3 separate regions of the Homo sapiens genome follow, and all the other regions are linked to region 1. The links are contacts of gene promoters, found by promoter capture Hi-C in blood cells and fetal thymus (Javierre and others, 2016). All regions are on one chromosome and are shown on one strand. Each heading gives the region's core, a stretch centred on a gene start or on the middle of the fragment in contact. The rest is flanking DNA. Distances are from core to core; before and after follow the strand shown.

What was found. Contacts are between HindIII fragments. The CHiCAGO score rates a contact against its expected background, and 5 or more counts as called.
Region 2: a contact is called between a fragment that was not itself captured here and the fragment with the promoter of PARM1 in region 1, in 1 of 17 cell types (M0 macrophages). The highest score is 6.0, in M0 macrophages.
Region 3: a fragment that was not itself captured here is called in contact with the fragment with the promoter of PARM1 in region 1 in 2 of 17 cell types (total B cells and naive B cells); the score reaches 5.5 in total B cells.

The regions. Positions count from the first base shown.
Region 1 is chr4:74,931,148-74,934,738 of GRCh38, reverse strand. PARM1 (prostate androgen-regulated mucin-like protein 1) reads right to left here and starts at 1,623. Exons shown (of 4, transcript NM_015393.4): 1 at 1,369-1,623. The coding sequence starts at 1,411. RefSeq lists an enhancer at 690-739 and silencers at 850-899, 1,480-1,789. The HindIII fragment of the contact is 7,366 bases long and covers 1-2,554 here.
Region 2 is chr4:75,434,026-75,437,616 of GRCh38, reverse strand. No RefSeq gene overlaps it. Among named protein-coding and RNA genes, the nearest start is that of RCHY1, 79 kb to the left of the region's middle. The HindIII fragment of the contact is 959 bases long and covers 1,565-2,523 here.
Region 3 is chr4:75,228,638-75,232,228 of GRCh38, reverse strand. No RefSeq gene overlaps it. Among named protein-coding and RNA genes, the nearest start is that of LINC02483, 120 kb to the left of the region's middle. The HindIII fragment of the contact is 1,558 bases long and covers 1,227-2,784 here.

The sequences.
Region 1 (3,591 bases), core at 374-2,873:
TTACAGGAATTACCACCCGCAGCCAGCCGGGAGCTCCGCTGCCTATTGCACCTGCCGGACCTAGGCTCTCTCATCTCAGCCCGAGGCTGGGCAGCCAAAGCCGCCTGCGAGTATTCGGGAACTGTCCGCGGACGCGTCTCCAAACCGTGCCGAGATACCAGCGAGAAAGAGGTTTTCTCAGACGGACGTTCACTAAGTAGAGAAAATACGCTATAGTTTCAAGTTGGGAAACTTTTCCTTATAACTGCATTACCCACTGTGAGCTGCCTGAAAACCGCTAGCTTCTTTTCAAGGGATTGCGACGACTCGTGTCCACAACTGTAGGAACCCGACGAACTCAGAGGGAGGATATACAGACTAAAGCACGAGTAGAATCGGTTTGCGCTATGTGACTTTGGGTCACATTTAAACTGAAAATGCCAGTGGCCGCGCAGTCGGGCTACTTTTCCCAGCAGCACCATATCCACAGCCAGTTGTCCCTTTTCGGGAGACGTTTTCTGGAAAAAATAGGTACCTGAACTCTAGATTCAAAGCGTCTTTCTGAATCTCTCCCCGGTCCCCGCCAAGCCGAGCTCAGTCATCTGGCTCCCCTCTTCCCCATCCCCGCTGCCAGAGGTCGTCGCCGTCTGTGGTCCCGAAACCCGAGAGTGGCTCCTACGAAGCCTTTCAGAGGTGGTGCAGGGGGAGGGGAGAGGATGCTAGTTTAGCCAAGTTAATAGTTTCTTCTATGGGATACGTTTTTGGGGAGTTCTGGGGCAGAAGGTAGCCTTGCTACCCCCAGTGACGATTGCGAGCCTGACCAAGGCCGGGCCGCTGCTGTTAGTGCCACATCATCCTAAGCATAACTAGGAAGGGACGCCGGAGATCAGAGACCGCCAAGACTCGAGAAAGCAAACCAGCCCCGCCAGGCGCGCAGCCGCTGCTGAAGCCTTCCCAGATGCGAACCTCCCACCCCCACTTCCCCGGCTTTTTCATCCCTTCCAGGGCCCAACGGCAACAAGAAGTCTGGTCCCGTACTTTGGCAGAGTGCGCTCCGAAACCCTGGTGAAGAAAGAGAAGCCTTGAGGCGCAGTCCGTGTTGCCCACTCTGGGTTCGAACACGCAGCTAAGACAGCCACCTGTTCTACAAAGCTGGAGTTTGTGCGGGCGCGGGCTGCGGCAGGAAGGACCCCATCGTCCCCTCCCTCAGTACGGTTCGGGACCGCCAAAGGTGCACGTCACCCCAAATCTAAGTGCGCACACACCTGCGCACTCACCCGGAGGCGCGCGGCGACTCACTGCCGGATCTCCTAGCTTCAGCCCCGACCACGCGCTAGCTACTGGGGCCCACCCCGCGACCTGCCCTTCCGGGAGGATGGCGCCAATTACCTGCAGTTAAGATGCAAAGAGCGAAGAGAGTCTTGTAGACCATGGTAGCCTGGTATTTGGTGCCCAGCCCGGGGCGGGCGGCAAGGAGTTTGCGGACTGACAGAGCGCACTGGGCGCTGGTAGCGACTCCTCTGCCGGGTGGGCTGCGGTGGGAGCCGGGAGGCGCGAACAGCTCCAGTGGAGGGCGCGAGGCAAACGAGGCGAACGCAGCGCAGCTCCGTCAGCTGCGTGCCCTCCGGTGCTCCGCGCTCTTCTGCTCCATCCCAGCCGCCCGAGCCCGGGGCCGCCTCCGCCTCCGCCGCCGCCGCCGCGCCTGCCGCTGCCAAACCCCTCCCACCCGGGCCCCGCGGCGATGACTGGGCCACCCCCTGGCCTTCCTTCTCTCAGCCCTCAGGTCCCGAGAGCCCCGGCCCAGAGCGGCCTCTGCTGGACAGTCAAGACACGAGACCCTGGGTTCAGCAAATGTTTGCAGCGCCTTGCACTGTGCTGGGAACTAGGGATGCAAAGAAATGTGAGCACATCTCTGCCCTTAGGAATCTAGCTCAGCTTTTCCTACATGAGCTTACAGCCTTTAAAAAGGTGACCTTATGCCATTTTAGGAGTTCCCTCGGAGAACCGGCACATGTTCCAAGAATGAGGACCTTCTTCATTTGTCAAAACACTTCTGCGTGTACATCATTAAACCCTCATCCACATTAAACCCGGCTGAGCTTCCTGGGGCCCGAACCAGGATGTCTGCCGCTGCATTCAGCTTCTTACTAGAAGAAAATACTGTCGGGGGGATAACTAAGCCAGACACCCTACTAGGCGTTGTTTCATGAATCCTTCTAAGAATTATTATTATTCCATTTTACAGGTGAGAAAATGAAGGCACAGAGAAGACAATGTTCTCAAGGTCGCATAACTGGTAAGAATAGTTTGTGCACTAGGCCCATAATAAAGGCTGACGTTTCCTGAGTGATTGCTATGTGCTAGGCACTGGACAACGTGCTGTTCAGGAATCAACCAAGTCATTTAGTTCTCACAACAATCCTTGGAGATTATATCCTCGTTTTCAGGGGAGAAAGTAGAAGCACAGAGAAGTTTAACTTGCCCGAGTTCACACAACTCGCAAGTAATGATAAGATGCCTGCCCAGGCACCCCGCTCAGCCTCTGTACTCTACTCCCTCTCAAGAGCCCAAAGCTTCTCCAAAGCCTACAGATTAGAACTGACCTTTCATTCAGTTCCCTCCCTGCTCTTGCTACACTTTAGGCTTGCTTAATTCTCACACTTCGATCAAAGCAGATGCCAGGTTCTCTCCCAATTCTGTTATTAATGAACCTATTGGTCCCCTAGTCACTAGAGCTGGGGCACTGCAGGAGTTAACAAGCCTTTGTAAAGAAATGATTTGCGTGGAAGGCAGCTTTCTTTTTTCTGTAATATCTTCTTCATATGCCATGGGCTCTGTTCTCACTTCTTTCTCACATACCAGAAGCTGACTCTAGGAGTCCTGAGCACCTTATCTATGGTCAATTCCTCTGCCTGACTCTATCACACTACCACTTGTAGATTTTGCTCACACTTCCACAACCAGATTAAATTTGGATCATATTTTTTTCTCTTTGTTTTGGTAAATCTAGTAATTTCTGTTGGAATGAGAAACAAAAAATACTCAGACCAAGTGCCCATCCCCTCTCCATCCTCCCTGGCCAGATAAACTGCAAATTCAATTTGTTCAGCATGTTCTCTGAATGCTTTTGACTTCAAGGCCCTTCCGGTTTCTAGGGTAATCTATGTGATTAGGAACAATTTCTGCATCTGGGTTTTGGTTGTCATGGATGCAGGGACCACACACAGATGGAGTTATGCAGCGACATTCTATCAGGCATTAGCCCCTTTAAATAGGGCAGGTTAAGTAAGTGACTCTATGGCAGAAATATAGGTTTTTGAAGACCACTTCACAGAAAAAATTTATTCAATTGAAATTCAGCAAAACTTGAAGGAGTCTTTCTGGAGTGCGAAGCATGTGCAACTCTAACCTTGATATCTAAGATAATGGTTTGGTACTCAAAGAATCATGACCCCTACACACTAATCAGTGAAAATTTCCAAAACTTTTCTATTGTACGCAGGATAGAGTTGAAATAATTTCTTTGATTAAAATAGTTCATTTTAATTGCTGATTAAAAATTTTAATTTATTAATTAATTTAGTCAGAGCATATTTAATCACTTATTTTACG
Region 2 (3,591 bases), core at 795-3,294, 500 kb before region 1:
TTCAGCCATTCTGTATCTTTTAAGTGGAACATTTAGGCCATTTACATTCAATGTTAGTATTGAGTTTTTGCCTGAATACCTTGTCTTTTTTCATTATGTTATTGTTTTATAGGTCCTGTGAGAGTTATGCTTTAAGGAGGTTCTATTTTGGTGTTTTTCAAGGATTTGTTGCAAGATTTAGAACTCCTTTTAGCAGTTATTGTAGTGCTGGCTTGGTGGTGGTGAATTCTCTCAGCATTTGTTTGTCCAAAAGCCCTTTATCGCTCCTTCATATATGAAGCTTAATTTTGCTGGATACAAAATTCTCAGCTGATAATTGTTTTGTTTAAGGAAGCTAACAATAGGACCCCAATCTCTTCTAGCTTGTAGGATTTCTGCTGAGAAATCTGCTTTTAATCTGATAGGTTTTCCTTTATAGTTTGCCTGATGCTTTTGCCTCATAGCTCTTAAGATTCCTTCCTGTGTCTTGACTTTACATAACTTGATGACTATGTGCCTAGATGATGATCTTTTTGTGATGAATTTCCCGGGTGTTCTTTGAGCTTCCTATACTTGGATGTCCAGATCTCTAGCAAGGCCAGGGGAGTTTTCCTTGATTGTTCCCTCAAATATGTTCTCCAAACTTTTAGATTTCTCTTCTTCCTCAGGAACACTAATTATTCTTAGGTTTATTCATTTAATATAATCCCAAACTTCCTGGAGTCATTGTTCATTTTTAAAATTCTTTTTTTCTGTGTCTTTGTCAGATTGGGTTAATTCTAAAGCCCTGTCTTTGAGATCTGAAGTTCTTGCTTTTACTTGTTTGGTTCTATTGCTGAGACTTTCCAGTGCATTTTGCAATTCTCTAAGTGTGTCCTTCATTTCCAGAAGTTGTGATTGTGTTTTATTTAGGCTGTCTATTTCACTGGAGATTTTTCCATTCATATCCTTTATTGTTTTTTTGATTTCATTAAGTTGGACTTCATCTTTCTCTGGTGCCTCCTTGATTAGCTTAATAATTGACCTTCTGAATTCTTTTTTCTGGCAATCCAGATATTTCATCTTGGTTTGGATCCAATGCTGGTGAGCTAGTGTGATCTTTTGGAAGTGTTAAAAAAACCTCGTTTTGTCATATTACCAGAATTGTTTTTCTGGTTCTTTCTCATTTGGGTGGACGTCAGAGGGAAGACCTGGGATTTGGCTGCTGTTCATATTTTTTGGTCCCATGGGGTGCTCCCTTTATGTGGTGCTCTCCCTTCCATCTGGGGATGAGGCTTCCTGAGACCTGAACTGCAGAGATTTTTATTTCTCTTCTGGGTTTATCCACCCAGTTGAGCTACTGGGCTCCAGGCTGGTATTGGGAAGTGTCTGCACAGAGTCGTGTGATGTGACCCATTTGTAGGTCTCTCAGCCATGGATACCAGCACCTATTCTGGTGGAGGTACCAGGGGAGTGAAGTGGACTCTGTGAGGGTCCTTGGTTGTAGTTTTTGTTAGTGTACTGGTCTTGTTCTGGTTGGCCTCCAGCCAGGAGGTGGTGCTTTCAAGACAGCATCAGTTGCAGTAGTATAGAGAGGATACAAGCTTACCCTAGGGTCACCTAGATAAGTATTCGGGTTTCTCAGATGGTGGGTGGGGCCCTAGAGCTCCCAAGAGCTTATGTCCTTTGCCTTTTGCTACCAGTGTGGGTAGAGAAAGACCATCAGATGGGGGCAAGTTTAGGTGTGTCTGAGTTCAGACTCTCTTTGGGTAGGGCTTGCTGTGGCTGCTGGTGGGGATCGGGGTGTGGTTCACAGGCCAATGCAGTTACGTTCCTAGGGGGATTATGGGTGCCTCTGCTGTGTCATATGGGTCATCAGGGAAGTGGGGGAAAGCCAGCAGTTACAGGCCTCACCCAGCTTTCTTGCCACCCGAAAGGCAAGTCTTACTCCCACCATGCACCCCCAACAGCACCGAGCTTATTTTGAGGCAGCTGGGGAGCAAGGCTGAGAACCTGCCCCAGGCTACAAGCCTCCCTGCTGGGAAAGCAAGCAGGGCTTTCAGGTTTCATGCCTCCCTGCCTGCTGCAGCTTCTGTGCTTCTATCTGTGCTCCCTGTTTGACCCTTTCCCCAAGTTCTGTCCAGGAAACCTCACTTTCAGTTGAAATTGTTACAAAATTAAGCTGGAAGTTTCCTTCTTCCTGTGATCTTTCCTCAATTCCATTGGGAGCCCTCCCCAAACCCCTCTGCGAGATGAAATCAGAAATGTCTTCTCTGGGGACCAAGAGGGCTCTTTCCGCTGCTTCCTGTATCCCCATATTTTGTTTGACTCTCTAAATTCATTTCAGTTCCAGGTAAGGTCAAATCCTTCATCCATGATCTGAACCTTCAGGGTCCCCAGTAAAGATGTGTCTTCGAGGGTGGATTTTTCCTCTTTTCATACTTTGGGAACTCACAGTTTTTCAGCTGTCTCAGAGCCTGCAGCAGCAAGCTGCTTCCTTCGAAGGGTCTGTGGATTCGCTTGGCTTGCCTAATGTGTTTCTGCAGTAGTTCTTGGAGCAAAGCTTCATGATGTGAGTGTCCACATACTGCTCTGTCCATTCAAGTGAGAGCTGCAAGTTAGTACTGGCTCCTATCTGCCATTTTTCTAATTTTCTCCATGAGTGGCATTCTTGACTCGCTCCTGAGATCTTCAGTGAAAGCATTTAGTCTGTCAACTTTTAAGTATAAGGTTCGTGTAGGGTCCTTTGCAGGTAGATGCTCTTTATCAAGTTAAGGGGAATTTCCCCTCTATTTTTTGGGGAGTTTTAAAAAATCATGAATAGTTGTTTAATTTCATCAAATTTTTATGCATGAATTGATATAATGATGTGATTTTTCTTCTTTAGCTTATTAATATATTGGATTACATCACTTGAGTTTTAAATATTGGATCAGTCTTGTATATCTAAAAGAAAATCCACTTAGCATAGCTTTGGTTATTTTTATGTGTGCTGAATTCAATTTGCTAATATTTTGTTATTATTGTGTTTGTATTCATGAGGAATATTGATGTCTAGGTTTTCTTTGTGCTGTCTTTGTCTGGTTTTGGTATCAGGGTAGTATATGCTTCCTAAAATGAATTGAGAAGTTATAATCCTCTTCTATATACTGCAAGAGATTGTGTACCATTGGTGTTAATTTTGCTTTAAACATTTGTTAAAATTCTCCAGTGAAACCATCTGGGCCTGGAGTAAAGGTGTTTGGCATTGTTACTGTGGTCACTGATGAGGAGGTAGAGGGAGGATTCACAGCCAAGTTGCCATGATCTTGTCGTTATGGAGACAGACATGCTGGGCTTCATCACAAGGCTGTTTTTCTCCAGGTATGATGTTGCTGTGGAAACACAAAGCCCAAATCCTCAAAGAACACTCTGTTCTAGTCCCAGCTGCTGTATCCATCTGCGTTGTATCTCATTAGCAGAAGAGCCTAGTGAGATAGGAGTTGCATCTCTGCTCATCCAGATCTCTAGAGAAGGGATCTACCCCTGGACTTTTTCCTGGGTAAGTGGGAATCTTTGGCTATTTTAAGGTAAACTTTGCTAAATTGGATGGAAACAAAATCTTCCTGTGCTGTGTCGTTTTTCAAAATGACT
Region 3 (3,591 bases), core at 756-3,255, 300 kb before region 1:
GTCCAAGTGGTGGGCTGACTCTTGATCACAGATACTCACATTTCCTATTAGAGATGGGAAAGGATCAGACAAACATGGTCAAGGGGACAGTTTGGGAAAGTTAACAAACCCCAGAGGACGTTTAACTTCAAATAGCACAGTGCACTTAAAAATACATGTGTGCATTATTTATACATAAGTTCATTTAACACTTTCCCAGGGTTCTTTCCTTTAGGTATGTGTGTGAATGTGTGGAGAATGAGAAACCAGACACTACTGGGTAGGGTTTCATATTGTTGTTGTTGTTATTTTGTAGCTTTAAAAGAATATCTAACTTTGGCATTGCAAATTGATTTGTCAACCTTGCTTTACTATCCAAATTGAAAAACAGAGAGGAAAGGAGAATGACCCCAAAAAAGAGTGCTCTTATGGCATTTCCTGATTTCAGCAGTACAGAAACAGTTTAGTGCATCAAGATTCTCAGAGTAAATTTTATCTGTTCCCATCACTCTGCATATGTAATTAATGACTGCAAAACCTTTTGAACAAAAAAGAAGCAATACCTATTAATGTTAATTAAACAATGTATAGATTTGAAATGTTATCTTTCAAAGCTTTCAATCCAATGCTAAATGATGCCAAGGGTCTTCCAAAGCAATTAGGGGAAAGAAACAGATCAAGTTAACCTTCATCATCTTCACTAATTAATATTTATTGGGTGCCCAGACATCTTGCTTGGCTTTGAAATAGAAAATGAATCTGGAATTTTATGATAGTTGATGAAATACTTATGAGTTCAGTGACAAGGTAGAAAAGGGAATAAATGTACTGCTTGAGCATGCTATGAATTATTTGAAGATTTTTGGAATTTAGTGAGCTGATCTCATTAGCAGGGTACTGAGAATCCCTAATGGGTTATGTTTCTGAAATATCAATTTATTTCTTTATGAAGAAATTACAGTTGAACTGTGGCAAGATTTTTGGCAAGTATTTGAATGTTAGCAGCTACCCTTCTCTCCAGTTCTCTATAATTCAATTCAATTCAACTCAATTCAATTTACCTTTACTATACACATGTACCAAGATCTGGTGCTAGACTTTTGTAGGGGAGCTATGAAATAGTAAAATAAGGTCATCTTCTCAAAAAAAAAAAAAAAAATCTGGTGGTTGAGATATTTGGGTCCTAGTCTATTTCTATCATTTCCTAGCTGTGTAAGGTTGGGCAAGTTACTAAACTTTCCAAAGCTTCAATTTTCCTACTGAAAAATGAATTTAATACTGGAGTAGTATCTATTTCATTGGATTATTGGGAAGATTACATAAGATGCTGCACGTGGTTGGCATATGGATTTTTTTGATAAAAGCTATTATTAATAGTAACAATAGATATTTCACAACCTTCTGAGGAGATGAACAATCACTCATTCAACACACATGCCATGCCTACTCTGTATCAGGCCCTAAGTTTAGAGAGAGAAGATGCACTTATGTCCTCTTGGCTCTCAAGAGGTTTGGAGTCTAGAGGGAAGACAGTTATGCAGCCAACCACAGCTGAAAAGGAAGCATGTACAAGTGATATAGGAGCTTGGGGCAAAGGCAGTACATCAGTTGGGATGCTTTGGCTAAAACCCCAACTCAGATTGTCTTAAACAATTAGAAACTTTATTATTATTATTATTTTAGAGACAGGATCTCACTCTGTCAGCCACTAGTTTGCAGTGGCATGATCATAGCTCACTGTAACCTCAAACCCCTGGGCTCAAGCGATCCTCTGGTCACAACTTCTGAGTAGCTAGGACTACAGGTGCATGCCACCACACCCAGCTAATTTATTTTATTACAGGTGTGAGCCACTGTGCCCAGCCAGAAACTTTAGTATTGCACATAACAGAGAACTGAGAGTTTCTGCTGCTCAGTGATGCCATCAATGATTTGGTGTCTTTCTATCTGCCTGAGAGATAGAAAGCAAGGCGAGTCACATCTTGAATAACTCATAACTTGATTTGAAGTTGTGTGTAGGTCACAACTTAAGTTCCAGTTCACTCTTTGAGAATGTTTCCAGGTTGTAACACTAGGAAGATGTCAGATTGAGGAGAAAATATTTTTATGTTTCAGTACAGTTAGGGCTTTCTGAACAAATTTTACTGACACTTGGAATCTGACCTGAGAGCAAGTTTTAGAAGTTAATTTACAACTGTATAGATAGTGAGAACTCCAGAGAGATTTAACTAACCACAAAGATTTGTGTGTACATTTCAAGAGAGGATGAAGCCTGGGACTTGGAGACGTCTCTGAGTTGTAAAACTGGAGACACTGGGATTATCTTTTCTCTGGAGAGTTATTTACATTCCAAAAGGTTAGAGTAAGATATTTCCAAGGACACTTTCAGAAGTGGAAAAGGAGACATCTGCTTCTTTTTCTTGAATAAAACAAAGAAAATTTATTTTTGTGTCTCTCACTTATGGGGTGATCTGTCACTCATTCAAGAAAATTTTTCATATCTGGCTCTCATTGTGTCAATGTAGACATGGAGGAACAATGCTGCAATGTTAATCTGAGTATTGATCATGCTGTGAGTGTCACAAGATGTCTGTCTCTGATCCAAAACCTCAGTGTGGATTAAGAAAAAATTAGTAAAGATAAATATTAGAAATGCAGCAGAGGGGAACCTAGCCAGAGTTTGGCAGACTCCCTAAGTCAAGGAAACAGAGAGTCTGGGGAGACCAAGGTGGTTAGCATTTGTAAGACAAAGTGAAAAAGAAAAGATGGCTGCACAGAGGTAGAACCCTGGAGATTTGCAAAGCTTCTCTTTGAGTAATCAGCAGATTACTGATCAATGTTTTTTGTGTGTGAGGAAACTACTCAAGAGCAAGAAAATAACAATCCAAAATGATTAGAAAATATTGCCTGGCATGCACACATGTTCAAGAATATTGCTTATTCCCAAAACCCAGAATTAAAAAATCCGTAATTTATGAAGCATTGGGGTGAATACTCAAGAAGATTGTTCTTCAGTAGTGAGGAATAATTTGGCCCAGACGGGAGTGCCATTTGAGGCCGGCCTAGCAAATCATACAAGCAAGACCTAATCAAACTGTTTCCAGGTAACTACATTGTATCCCAAAACATAGCTCATGAATATTTATAGAAATATAAAAATACTTGCATCTAGCAAGTAAAATCACAATGTCTATCATTAAAACAAAGATTACCAGGCTTGTGAAAACAAACAAACAAAAAAACATGACCGATAATGCAGAAAATAATCAAAACCAATCTGGAGCTGATACAGTTGTTAGAATGAGAAGACAAGTACATTTAGACAATTATTATAACTATATTCCATATGTTTAAAGAGTTAAGGGGAGAAATGCAAGATATTAAAAAGCAACTATATTGAACTTCCAGAGATGAAAACTATAATAATTAAGATAAAAAAGTATGGTAGTAGTGGCAGATTATACATGAGAACAAAAGATAAGTAAACTTGAAGATACAGTGATAAAAATTATCTAAAACGCCACCCGAGAGAAAACTTTTTTTTAAAATTATAAATGAAAACAGTATCAGTGAGCTGTGGGAGAACTTTAAGTAACTAATATACATGTAATT